Linked DNA regions of Homo sapiens: region 2 is linked to region 1. Evidence: promoter capture Hi-C in 16 types of primary human blood cells and fetal thymus (Javierre and others, 2016). All regions are on one chromosome and are shown on one strand. Each heading gives the region's core, a stretch centred on a gene start or on the middle of the fragment in contact. The rest is flanking DNA. Distances are from core to core; before and after follow the strand shown.

Region 1 (6,759 bases), core at 1,577-4,076:
AGCCCAACTCCAAGGCCCAAAACCTTGGTGTCATCCCCGACCCCTTATCTAATCACACATCAGCAAATCCTTCTGGTACCATCAATGAATACCCAGAATTCAATCATTTCTTACCACCTGCACCTAGATAACCACAATGAACTCCTAACCTACCTTTCTCTCACTCCTAAGACCATCTTGTTAAAATGGAAGGAAGAGCAAGTCATTACGCAGCTGAAAACCCTCAACTGGCCGCCCCATTTCTGAGAAAATACCAAAGTTTTACAAGGCCTGTTCTGTTACCTCCACTGCCTTCTCTGGAACTACCCTAGCCTCATTTTCTCAAACCTTCAAGGCATGCCCCATGCTTCTCCAAGGGCTCTCAGCTACATCCTGAGACATATCCCTTACCTGCAATACTCTTTCCATATGATGTGATCTCTGCTTCCTTCAGACTTTACTCAAACATCTCACTCTGCGTGAGGCCTACCCTGGCTGATGTAAAACTGCTACCCTCGGCTGGGAGTGGTGGCTCACGCCTGTAATCCCAGCACTTTGGGAGGCCAAGGAGGGTGGATCACTTAAGGCCAGGAGTTTGAGACCAGCCTGGCCAACATGGTGAAACCCCATCTCTACTAAAACTACAAAAATTACCCAGCTGTCGTAGCCCTTGCCTGTGATTCCCACCTACTCGGGAGGATGAGGCAGGAGGATAGCTTGAGCCCAAGAGTTGGTTGCAGTGAGCCAAGATGGCGCCACTGCACTCCATCCTGGGCAACAGAGTGGGACTCTGTCAGGTCCATCCTGGCCAACATGGTGAAACCCCATCTCTACTAAAAACACAAAAATTAGCTGGGCACGGTGGTGCGCGCCTGTAGTCCCAGCTATTCGGGAGGCTGAGGCAGGAGAATCGCTCCAACCTGGGAGGTGGAGGCTGCAGTGAACCGAGATCACGCCACTGCACTCCAGCCTGTCGACAGGGCGAGGCACTGCATCAAAAAAAGTAAATAAAATTGGTACCCTCTTCCCTAACACAAGCACCCTACAATCCCCATTTTTCTTGCATGTTCATCACTATTTTAAGATACTTTATAATGAGTGGGGCAATAAGTAAAATATCTAGTAATTTCCGTGAGAGCAGGGACTTCTGTGTTTTGTTCACCGCTGTATTTCCAGTACCTAGCTCAATAAATATGTCGGATATCTGAAGGTCCTACCAAAACTCAACCTCTCCCTGGACACCCCTGTCCTCTCTTTGGTTGGCTGCCCCTCCCCCACACCTCATCCCTCCTGTCCTGTTTACTCATTCCCTAAGACCTTCATCGCCTCCACCTGTCCTAAGTTTACTCATTCCCTAAGACCTTCATCGCTTCCACCTGTCCTAAGTTTACTCATTCCTGTCCCATATCAAGTGTCACTTCTCACTTATCTTGGTATCCCCTGCAGCACCCAGCATAGTTGTTGGCAAGCACAGGTACTTAATGTACTTATCTGTATACAGCTGGGCCCCCACTTCACCGCAGCGCAAAAGCATTTGGTACATTCAACTTACAATGGGGTTGCCTGTGGGAACCCATTGCAAGTTGAAAATACACAAAGTTAAACTCGCCTTTTGACTTAGGATATTACCAACTTGCGATGGGTATGGGAAGTAGCCATCAATCCAGGAGCATTTGTATTTATTTTTCAAATGAACTGGATGTACAGGAAACTCGAGAACTTCGATGATAAATTTGGATTCCCCTTTAAAATTACCTCCCTCTTGGGCGTCGTAATTAAAAGGCAATGCGAGCACCTCCTGGGTTCTCAAAATTAGGTTTAATTAGATTCACCTGGTAAAAATGCGGACCCCCCCCCCCCCCCCCGCAGTCTTAAGCTTCTTCAATGAACCCAGACGTCTGTTTTTTATTAGCTTTCTGGTGATTCTGACACACTGCAGAGTTTAAGAACCACCATTCTAGAAGATGGCTAAAAATAGCCTAGGCTCCTAGGCTTAAGTGGTCGCGGGCCAAGTCAAGCACTGTTAAGACACCTGGCGGCAGGCTCAGTCCGCCCACAGCAGGAGAGATCCTCCAAAAAGGTTAAGAGGAAGCCGTCTTCAGGTCAGAAGCGCTGAATTCTAATCCTCTGGCCAAATGACTGTAACCCTGGCCCAGTTCTCTAGCCTCGGTTTGTCCATACTATGGAATTAGGAAGTATACGATTTCTTTTATTCACGCACAACTCACACGGATGCTGCAAGGAGATTAGCTACGTCAAAGCAATGGAACGCTGCAGAAAAAAACGTAAGTTTACTTTCAGATGCAGAGCCCTGGTTTCCCAACCTTGAAGGCGTGCAAGCCAAGAGCAGGTCCTCTGGGAAATCTGGGAGACCTGGGGGAACCCTGACAAATGGACCGGCCCTGGAGCGGGACTACCTCGCCCCCTTTTCCCCGGCTTTCTCCCCCGCACCTCCAGGCCAGTGTCAGGGCCTGCCCCGGGCGCCACAGTCTCCAGCCAGTGCCGGGCATCCCTGCGGTCCAGGCTGGCCTGGAGAGGGTCAGAGCTGCCCGCGAACCGGGGACGCACGTGGCCCGGGCCGGGGGGCCTCCGCCTGCAGGCCGCCCCTCGTCTGGCCTACCTGGGCCGAGGTGCTGAAGCTGCGGCGGAGAGCAGCGCTGGCAGGCCGGGCGAGGGCGGAGAGCATGGCTGGAGCGGGAGGGGCACCGACTGGCAGGCACAGGAGCTGGTGACGGGGAAGTGACTCCAACGACCTCCACACTGCCCAGCGCCTGCTCTCTGGGGCCTCGCGAGAGTGACCGGACTTCCGGTCGCGCTCGCCTCCGGGATCTCGTGAGATCACGGCCACTTCCGGGAGTCGGAAAGGAAAGCTGTGGGACCATCCTGGCAACCCCGGTGTTTGGCTGGGTTCTAGCGTAGCCGTCTGTGTGGCCGGTGGGGGACCTGCGGTCGGAGTGGGAGGGCCAGTCTGCACCCAAGAGGTGGAAGAGGACGGGCTTTAGGCTGGAAGCGCCTTAGAGGAGCCATTTTTCCAGGTGGGGCCCCAGGCAGAGGCTCCGACAGGGAGCCTGGCCATAGTCGCGCAGCCGGGGAGGTGGAGCGCGTCCCAGACCCGAGCCCCCGACCTCAGCCAAACCCATTCCTTCTGCCCTTGGAGGCCAGAGGGGACTCTGAGCTCCGGAAAGGTAGGGTCAGGGAGGCTGAGAGTCCTTAGGCGGGGTGGGAGGAAGGGGCCATCTCCTCAGATCCGGGCCGTCGTTTCCCAAGTTGCAGAGACCCTTGGGTTCAGGTTTAGTGACACCACTGCTGATAATGGCGACCTCCAGCCCTGCAAGCTTTAGAGGACCACTATTCTGTGTTCCAGATGAGCAAATAGGTTGTAGGGACAACAACTTCCGTGGTCATACAGTTCCTGTCTTCTCTCGCCTGCCCGGCAGTGCTCTGACGGTCCCACTGTTTCTGCTTTACGAATAAAGACACTGTGGCTGAGGCCAAGTGGATTTGTAGAGTTTACGCAGACAGAAAGTCGAGTAGAATTCCTTGCTCACAATGAGTTTATTACTTAAATGTATGAATTTATTTATTTTTTTGAGACGGAGTCTCTCTAGCCCAGGCTGGAGTGCAGTGGCGCGATCTTGGCTCACTGCAACCTCTGCCTGTCAGGTTCAAGTGGTTCTCCTGCCTCATTCTCCTGAGTAGCTGGGATTAGCGCACCACTACACCTGGCTAATTTTTTGTATTTTTTTTTTAGTAGAGACGGGGTTTCACCACGTTGGTCAGGCTGGTCTCGAACTCCTGACCTCGTGATCCACCCGCCTCGGCCTCCCAAAGTGCTGAGATTACAGGCGTGAGCCACCGCGCCCGGCCTGATACATATTTTTAAAATTAAACAACACCCCCAGGCAAGGTGGCTCATGCCTGTAATCCCAGCACTCTGGGAGGCTGAGGCGGGCCGATCACTTGAGGCCAGGAGTTCATGACCAGCCTGGCTAACATGGTGAAACCCCATCTCTACTAAAAATACAAAAATTAGCCCAGCGTGGTGGTGTACACCTGTAGCCCCAACTACTCCGGAGGCTGAGGCAGGAGAATCGCTTGAACCCGGGAGGTGGAGGGAGGTTGCAGTGAGCCGAGATAACCCCACTGTACTCCAGCTTGGGCGACGGAGAAAGACTCTGTCTCAAAAAAAAAAAAAAAAAAAGCCGGGTGTGGTGGCTTATGCCTGTAATCCCAGCACTTTGGGAGGTCAAGGCGGGCAGATCACCTGAGGTCAGGAGTTTGAGACCAGACTGGCTAATGTGGCGAAACCCCATCTCTACTAAATATACAAAAATTGGCTGGGCATGGTGGCGTGTGCCTGTAGTCCCAGCTACTCAGGAGGCTGAGGCAGGAGAATCCCTTGAACCCAGGAGGTGGAGGTTGCTGTGAGCCAAGATTGTGCCATTGTACTCCATCCTGGGTGATAAGAGCTAAACTCCGGCTCAAAAGCGCGCGCGCGCGCGCGCGCACACACACACACACACACACACACACACACACACACACACACACACACACACACACACACACACAGCAGATAAGCTGAGACATGCTGGAAGAGTAGGTGTTTCTCAATGGAACATTCAACTCCAGAGGAGGGAAAGATCCCTTGCCTTGGAATCAGAATTCTCAAAGGAGGGGCACTAGGGCCTGAGCATTTAACAATGGGAAATGTTTAGACAGGAAAGGAGGAGAAAAAAGGCCAAATAAAATCCTAGCGGGAAAAAATAAGCATAGGCCAGTATTCAGGGGACAGTGAATAGATCATTTATTTTGGAGTGGGGACATTAGGGCAAGCAGTGTCCTTTGTTTATCTTATCACTGACTGCATCTTCTGGTAATTATTTACTCCTCTGTCTTGTAACTGAGAGCACCTCAGAGCCAGGTATTAAGTCTTGCCAGGTACTAAGTCTTTCTTCTGTTTTTTTTGTCCAACATGCGACTGGGCTGAAAGGGCCTCAGTGAATTTGTGGAGAGTTGAGTGGTTTTAGGTACAGCTGGAAACAGCAGGTTGGGAAAAACTAGATTGTGCCGGTCCCATGAATGTTAGCTGAGAAGTTTGTATTTCATTTCTTGGGAAGCAAGTGTTTATCAAAGGTTGTTTATTTATTTGAGATGGAGCCTCACGCTGTTGCCCAGGCTGCAGTGCAGTGGCGCGATCTCGGCTCACTGCAACCTCCACCTCCGGGTTCACGCAGTTCTCCTGCCTCAGCCTCCCAAGTAGCTGGGATTACAGGTGTGCACCACCACACCTGGCTAATTTTTGTATTTTTAGCAGAGACAGGGATTTGTCATGTTGGCCAGGCTGGTCTAGAACTCCTAACCTCAAGTGATCTGCCCGAGTCAGCCTCTCAAAGTGCTGGGATTATAGGCGTGAGCCACTGCACCTGGCCAATCAGGCTTTTGTGACACTGCCAGAACTGTGTTTGAGGAAGATTAGACTGACCTTGTATGCTAAGAATTCCCAGGAAAAAAAAAATGGAGATTGTTTAGGAATCTATTCAGGGAGATTGTTTAGGAATCTATTTTATGGATGACAAAGGTCTGAATTACGGTGGTGGCCATAGAAATGGAGTGGGTAGGGCCAGTGTGGGAGAAGTCTCATGGGAAGAATGGGTAACAGTCTGTGCTCATCTGGGTTTGAGGAGTGAAAGAAAGAGGTGTGGAAAATACATAAAGAGGGAAGTCGGGTTATACAAAGGAGAGGAGAAAAATAAAGGAGGTTATACCAAAGGAGAGGAGAAAAAATAAAGAGTTCCGTTTTAGATGGGCTTAATTGGGAGTTATGCTGAGTTGTCCATATAGACCTTTCAGTGGTATGGGCCGTGTTCATGCCTGTAATCCCAACACTTTGAGCAGCCAAGGCGGACGATCACTTGAGCTCAGGAATTCAGGACCAGCCTGGGTAACATGGCAAAACCCCATCTCTACAAAAAGTACGAAAATTCTCTGGGCGTGATGGTGTGTGCTTGTAGTCCCAGCTACCCAAGAGGCTGACATGAAACAATCGCTTGAGCTCAGGCGATCGGGGGAGGTCAAGGCTGTAGTGAGCCATGATTGTGCCACTGCATTCTGACATGGGTGACAGAGCAAGATATGTCTCATTTAAGGGGGGAAAAAAGGAACTGTGGGATTGAAACTCAGGCCAGGGCGGAAGTCACCTCTGTAGAGGGGGAGAGTTGAGACCATGAGCAATAAACTGGAATCACAGATTGTCAGGCTCCCTCCCACATCTGGAATTCAGTTTCCTCCACATCCCTCCCAAGTCCTCATCTCCACAGAAGAGGAACTCGCTACCTCCCAAGCCTTCTACTTGGGCCATCCCAAACAACTTGACTGCTAGAAAAGCCTCACATTTGGCCCAGTGCAGTGGCTCATGCCTGTAATTCCACCCCTCTGGAAGGCCAAGGTGGGAGGATCGCTTGAGCCCAGGAGTTCAATACCAGCCTGGGCAACACAGGAGACCCTGTCTACAAATAATAAAAATTAGCCAAGCATGGTGGTATGTGCCAGTGGTCCCAGTTACTCAGGAAGCTAAGGCAGGAGAATTGAGCCTGGGAGTTTGAGGCTGCAGTGAGCTGTGTTTGCACCACTGCACCCCAGTCTGGGTGACAGAATGAGACCTTATCTCAAAGGAAAAAAACATAAAAAGCCTCACACTCAGCTCCTATCTGCCTCTCTCTAAGGAAATACCAAGGTAATTAACAACAGTCTTATTGGCTGCTGTATGAAGCACTGTGT
Region 2 (6,759 bases), core at 3,127-5,626, 2.0 Mb after region 1:
TTACTGGGTTGTTGTGAGAGGGGCCTAATGCAGAGTGGGCACGCCATAATTATTTGCAAGTGACTGACTCAGGGACCCTAGGAAGTTCCACTGGGAGGGGCATGCAGAGGGGCCAGGAAAGTGGAAATCACTGGCCACCTCCCCAGTGGGGCTGGAGGCTGCAGACCCCTCATGGCCTTATCACATTGCCCCTGCCCGAACACCTTCAGAGGGGTGAGGGGCCCTGGAACAAAGGTCTCAGTGCATGAAATGAGGTCTGGGCCGGGCCCAATGCCTCAAGCCCAGGGCCCGAGGGAGACTAAGCAGAGTCTAGCACCTTGGGCATCCCACTGAGAGCCAGCCTGGCTGTGGTCAGCCATGCACCCAGGTGAGCAGTGACCCCCTCTGAGCTGCTCTGCTCACTGTCACGCGGTGAGGACCACCAGCTTTGGGGACTGTTGGGAGTATCACACCCACAAGCCACGAGGTAGAAGCCATGGCTCTTACTTCTAGTGGATCTTTCCCCATATTGAGACTTTTTTTTTTCGAGATGGAGTCTTGCTCTGTCACCCAGGCTAGAGTGCAGTGGCGCGATCTTGACTCACTGCAATCACTGCCTCTCGGGTTCAAGCGATTCTTCTGCCTCAGCCTCCTGAGTAGCTGGGATTACAGGCGCCCACCAACAGGCCCGGCTAATTTTTGTATTTTTAGTAGAGATGGGGTTTCACCATGTTGGCCAGACTGGTCTCAAACTCCCGACCTCAGGTGATCTGCCTGCCTTGGCCTCCCAAAGTGCTGGGATTACAGGCGTGAGCCACTGCACCTGGCTTCCTTCTTGAGTTTCACTACACCAGGGACAGCACAAACATGCCTCCTCTTTACTGCCCTGACCTGGGGACTCACCCCTCTCCTGGTGAGTGATTTGGGACAGGCCACTCCAAAGCCAGGTACACCCATCCTGTAACACGGCTTCCCTCCTGTGGCTTCTGTGGCTCTACTCCTGACCCTCTCTCCATCACCCAAGGCTCCATCTCCCCCCTCACCGCAGACACAGGGGTCCCCAAAGTTCTTCCCTTCATTCGTCTTGGCCCTATCACAAATCCCACTCACCATCTCAGGGCCAGCTCCGAGGCGGCCGTTTTTTCTGACTTTCCTACCTCCAACTGGACTCAGGCTCCCATGGCTAGCTCTGGGCAGGACACAGCCACCATGGATAGCCCATGTCCCCTCCAGCTCAACACAGATGAGCATGTCTCCTCCCCAACATGACCCCCAATTCCATCAGAGTCAACAAACCACCAACTCCCCAGTGCCCAGGTTAGAAAACCAGATGGCTTCAGGTTCCACCCTGCCATTCGCCAGTGCCCATGCCCTCCCCGAAGCCCCTGTCTTTTTCTTTCTTCCTTTCTTTCTTTTTTTTGAGATGGGATTTCACTCTGTCACCCAGGCTGGCTTGCAGTGGTGTGATCATAGCTCACTGCAACCTCCACCTCCCAGGCTCAAGCAACCCTCCCATGTCAGCGCCCTTGAGTAGCTGGGACTACAGGCACCACCACCATGCTCAGCTAATTTTTTTGTAGAGACAAGGTTTCACTATGTTGCCCACACTGGTCTCAAACTCCTGGGCTCAAGAGATCCACCTGCCTCCGCCTCCCAAAGGGCTGGGATTATAGGCATGTGCCACCGCCAGCCCCTGCCTTTCCTACTCTGTGGCGATGTGGAGTGAGAAGGTTTTAGTCCCAGCTCTAGATGTTACAACCTTCAGCGAGGCACTTGATTGCATGGAATCTCTGTTTCTCCCATGCAAACTGGGCACATACAGTCCCTCATAGAGTTATGATGAAGATTTAACAAATTAGCATGAAGAGTGCTCAATGCATGGTAGCCAATATGACAAATACTCACCAAAAACTGTCCCTTCTGCCTGAAATTCTCTCCATCCTCAGTCACTGTCCCAGGTCAGGTCCTATGAGCTCAGACCCTTGAGTTACTGGGACAGTCCCTTCCCTGCCTAGATACCACCACCGGCCCACTGGGATGGCATTCTTCAACAGCATGTCACCCCAGCCCCTCCCTGGCTTTCTGCCGACTCCCTTCTATTTTTTTTTTTTTTTTTTTTTGAGATGGAGTCTCGCTCTGTCTCCCAGGCTGGAGTGCAGTGACGTGATCTCAGCTCACTGCAGCCTCCGCCTCCCAGGTTCAAGTGATTCTCCTTCCTTAGCCTCCCGAGTAGCTTGGATTACAGTCATGTGCCACCATGCCTGGCTAATTTTTGAATATTTAGTAGAGACGGGGGTTTCACCACGTTGGCCAGGCTGGTCTCAAGCTCCTGGGGTCAAGTGATCTGCCTGCCTCGGCCTCCCAAAGTGCTGGGATTACGGGGATGAGCCACCACCCCCATCCTGACTTCTGAAACTCCTTATCTTGGCATTCAAGGCCCTTCACGAATCGGTCTCAACTTTGTTTCTTGTTGGATCCCTCAGCTTATTCTGTTCCTTCCAAGGGAACTGTTCCTGTTCCCTCAGCAGTCCGCACCATCCCACCGCTGTGCAGATGGTTTCCTCTGCCTGTTGAGAGCCCTCTTGCCCCCCGAAGGCCTCTTTCTGAGCACCTGATGCAGAATCCCAGGGCATGCTGTCTGTCTCCTTTCAGCCACACTGAGTGTGTTCATTTCACTCACTGGCTGTGTGACTTTCATCAAGAGAATTAACCTCTCTGTGTCCCAATTTTCTCTCTGGCAAAACAAAGACAGCACTAATATCTAACTATGCAAAGTACTTAGAACAGGGGTTGTCCCTTACTGAATGTTAGAAAACGTTAGACGTTATTCCTAAAAAAGAAAAAACAGGCTGGGCATGGTGGCTTATGCTTGTAATCCCAGCACTTTGGGAGGCTGAGTCAGAAGGATCGCTTGAACCAGTTGGAGCTGGAGGCTACAGTGGGCTATGATCTCACCACTGCACGCCAGCCTGGGTGACACAGCAAGACCCTGTGTAAAAAAAAAGAAAAGAAGAAACAAAAAAACAAACCGAGGCCAGGTGCAGTGGCTCATGCCTGTAATTCCAGCATTTTGGGAGGCTGAGGCGGGCAGATCACTTGAGGTCAGGAGTTCGAGACCAGCCTGGCCAACATGGCAAAACCCTATCTCTACTGAAAATACAAAACTTAGCCGGGCGTGGTGGTGCACACCTGTAATCCCAGCTACTTGGGAGGCTGAAGCAGGAGAATCGCTTGAACCTGGGAGGCGGAGGTTGCAGTGAGGAGGGATCGCGCCACTGCTCCCCAGCCTGGGCGACACAACAAGACTGTCTCAAAAAAACCAAAAACCAAAAAATAAACCAAGGCAGAAGCCTAAAATAAAGTCCTAGTGGTGGATGTCTTGACCCCTGCTGGGCATCCCAGAAGCTTCACCTTCTACCCTTTTATGGAGTTTTCTCCCCTGAACCTTGCTGTTTGGTGACTATGCCTGTAATTCTCTCCCACACCATTTGTTTTTCTTTCTTTCTTTTTTAAAAATTGAGACTGGGTCTCGCTCTATTGCCCAGGCTAGAGTGCAGTGGTGCGATCATAGCTCACTGCAGCCTCCACCTCCCAGGCTCAAGTAACCCTGCCACCTCAGCCTCTTGAGTAGCTGGGACTACAGGCATGCGCCACCACGCCCGGCTAATTTTTTGTATTTTCAGTGGAGACAGGGTGTTGCCATATTGCCCAGGCTTGTCTCGAACTCCTGAACTCAAGTGATCTGCCCACCTCAGCCCCAAAAAGTGATGGGATTATAGGTGTGAGCCACCACGCCCCACCTCCACTCTACTTTTCTACCCAGGAAATCTCACATCCTTTGAGACCCCTGCTCTGGCCCTGCTCTGGCTCAAGGCAGGTAGACCCCTGCTCCTGGCTTCTCAGGATGGTCCTACTGGGTGACCTTCAGGTCCTCATGTACTCTTTATCCTCCGCCACAACCCTGACCCTACTTTCTTCCTACCTGTGGGTGTGTGTCTGGACACTGGGGCTGGTGTGACTGGGTTATGCATGTTCGCAAGCAGCCTGGAAGACACTGAGGGTGGCCTGGTTTCCCTTAAGGCCTGGTTTGTCTTCCCTCCCTGCAAGAGCATGAACACCCAGAAGGCAGGAGGGACATTCCTTCCAACTCTTCCCCCTGTCTGGGTGCCAGCAGGGGGCTGAATTGCAGGCACTGGCTCAATTGGAGGTCTCTCCCATCCTCTCTAAGATTTAGATCTCAGAGATCTAGGATGACAACAGAGGCCAAGGCGTTAGCTCACGCCTGTAAGCCTAGCACTTTCGGAGGCCAAGGCAGGAGGATTGCTTGAGGTCACAAGTTCAAGACCAGCCTGGGTCTCAATAGTGAGACCCTGTCTTTACACAAAATTTAAAAAATTAGCTGAGCATTGTGGTGTATACCTATAATCCCAGCTACTCGGGAGGCTGAAGTAGGAGGATCACTTTAGCCCGGGAGATGGAGGTTGCAATGAGCCGAGATGGCACCACTGCACTCCAGCCTGGGCAACAGAGCAAGACCATTTCGAAAAAAGAAAAATACATAAAAGAAAATAAAATGAGGCCAGGAGCGGTGGTTTATGTCTGTCATCCCAGCACTTTGGGAGGCTGAGGTGGGAAGATCACTTGAGGTCAGAAGTTTCAGACCAGCCTGGCTAACATGGCAAAACCCGTCTCTACTAAAAATACAAAAATTAGCTGGGCGTGGTGGTGCACGCCTGTAATCCCAGCTACTCCAGAGGCTGACACAGGAGAACTGCGTGAGCCCAGGAGGAAGAGGTTGCAATGAGCCAAGATCGCACCACTGTACTCCAGCCTGGGTGACAGAGCGAGACTCCGTCTCAAAAAGAAAAAAAAATAGATAAATAAAATGACAACAGGAAGGCCTGTAGGGATTTTCTAGTCAAAACACCTCATGTCATAAATGGTAAATTAAGGCCACGAAGTCACAATAGGGGACGGCACCAGGAGGCATATCCCGGCCTCCCCCATTCCTTGACCAGCCTGTCCTCTCTGGCAGGCCTTGTTTAGGGCAACACAGGCCCTGGGCACCCCACCCTACCTGAAGCAGTCTGCGTGCCAGTCCGCGTTCAGGGCCTGGAGGTACTGGCCATCATAGATCCTCTGGCCGCAGCTTGCACACACGGGCAACTCGCTTCCTGCAGGGTGGGAAGGGAGTTGGGAAGCATTCTCAGGAAGTGTGATCTGGTGCAGGCCCAGCTTGCCCTGCCCACCCCACATATACCTACACCTGCACCAATCCTCGCACACTGCACATGTGCAGCGCCCAGGCAGGGCAGTCGCTGTGCCAAATAGGAGAAGAAAGGGCGCTGGCCTGAGTCTTGCTGAGATACTGACTAGGTTGCCAAGCTTCTCTGGCCCTGTTTCCCTATGTATCAGCTTAGGAGGAGGATCAGGTCCATCCTCCCGCTATAGCATTGGATCTGGCAAGGTAAATGAGGAGAAAGGAAGCAGTGGCTTTAGGGATAAGGCAGTGGGTGACATTCCTATCACAGCCTCCTTTCTTCCCTCTCCTGCCCAGGAAGAAGTACTAAGAGGGCCCTTCAAAGGCAGGGACTGGACAGGGCTGGATTAGTGCATCCTGGGCTGAAGCCAGCTGGGAGGTCAAGGGCAGGAAGCCTGGAGGTGCCGGCCCTAACAGATCCTTGGCAATGAATGCCCTGGCTTGGCAAGGGGAGGGGGCTGCAGACCTGGGTACTCCCAGACACCTGTCCCAGGGAGGCCTGGCACCTCCTCTAGCCAGCCACAGGCATGCTTAGTCATCCTTGGGGCCTGGCACCCTTGGAGCTGGTGGGCCCTGGAAAATGCCCCAGACCTGCCCCTCTCCACTGTACAGAAGGGGAGACTGAGCCCCAGAGATGGCATGGCTTGCCCAGTCACATAGCTAGGTCCCAAGGCCACAACAGCCTGACCCTCTGTGAAGACGCAGGTACCTTAGGTAGGCAGGGGCTACAGGAAGGTGGGCCCCTACCCCAATCAGGTTTTCATGGGCCTGGGAAGAGTTGGTGGCAGGGGGAGGTGTGGAGTCAGGCCCTGCCTTGGGGCCAGGTGGATCTAAGTGACAGGTCAGCGAAGGAGATCCAAGGAGGGGCCCCCAGACCCTGTCCTAGGCTGGGGGAGTCCTTGAACCCTAACTGCAGTGCAGTACTGCGCCTTGGGCCCCAGTGAGGGAGAAGGGGCTAAAGAGGAGGTTAGGATGAGTCATGCTCCCAGCCAAGACTGAGGGCAGGCACCGGGTTTGGGGCACGGACAGGGAGAGTGGATGAGGCTCCCGCAGTACACGGCCTCCGGCTTCCTGGACGCCTATCTCCGCTCTACCCATCTGGCCCCCAATCACCGACACCGGGGGGGCAACTACCCAGTTTCCAAATGTACAGAAGGGGAAACTGAGGACCAGGAAGTCAGCGCCTGGCTCAAGGTCACAGAGCCGGGCAGGCGCCCGGCGGCCACTGGGACCCGGGGCTGCGGCTTCCCCAGCCGCTCTTTCTTCCGAGACTGGATAAAGGGTGGCCCCAGGGCGAGGCCCGGGTGGTGGACAGAGCACGCGGATGGAGGCCGACGCGGGGTGGGCAGTGTCTGGGAGTCCTTCGCGGGGGGACGTGGGAGGAGGAAAAAGGGTCCAGGGGCCCCCAGACCCGCAGGAGGGCAGCTCGCCGGGGGCCGGGGAGGGGGATCCCGGGCGGGAGGGGGACAGGGAGGGGCCTGCGGGCTTCGTAAGGACGAGCTCATCCCGGAGGAGGCAGG

Evidence for each region. Contacts are between HindIII fragments. The CHiCAGO score rates a contact against its expected background, and 5 or more counts as called.
Region 2: a fragment that was not itself captured here is called in contact with the fragment with the promoter of STYXL1 in region 1 in 1 of 17 cell types (fetal thymus); the score reaches 5.6 in fetal thymus.

What each region holds. Positions count from the first base shown.
Region 1 is chr7:76,044,067-76,050,825 of GRCh38, reverse strand. It overlaps STYXL1 (serine/threonine/tyrosine interacting like 1), which reads left to right and starts at 2,826. Exons shown (of 9, transcript NM_001317785.2): 1 at 2,826-3,164. MDH2 (malate dehydrogenase 2) reads right to left here and starts at 2,720. Exons shown (of 9, transcript NM_005918.4): 1 at 2,600-2,720. The coding sequence starts at 2,665. RefSeq lists enhancers at 1,789-2,570, 2,846-2,925, 3,036-3,125, 2,571-3,353 and a silencer at 2,436-2,595. The HindIII fragment of the contact is 1,459 bases long and covers 1,858-3,316 here.
Region 2 is chr7:74,084,142-74,090,900 of GRCh38, reverse strand. It overlaps LIMK1 (LIM domain kinase 1), which reads right to left. Exons shown (of 16, transcript NM_002314.4): 2 at 5,057-5,153. Among named protein-coding and RNA genes, the nearest start is that of LIMK1, 3.7 kb to the right of the region's middle. RefSeq lists enhancers at 1-266, 267-767, 4,575-5,172, 5,173-5,772, 6,284-6,553 and a silencer at 6,744-6,759. The HindIII fragment of the contact is 1,980 bases long and covers 3,387-5,366 here.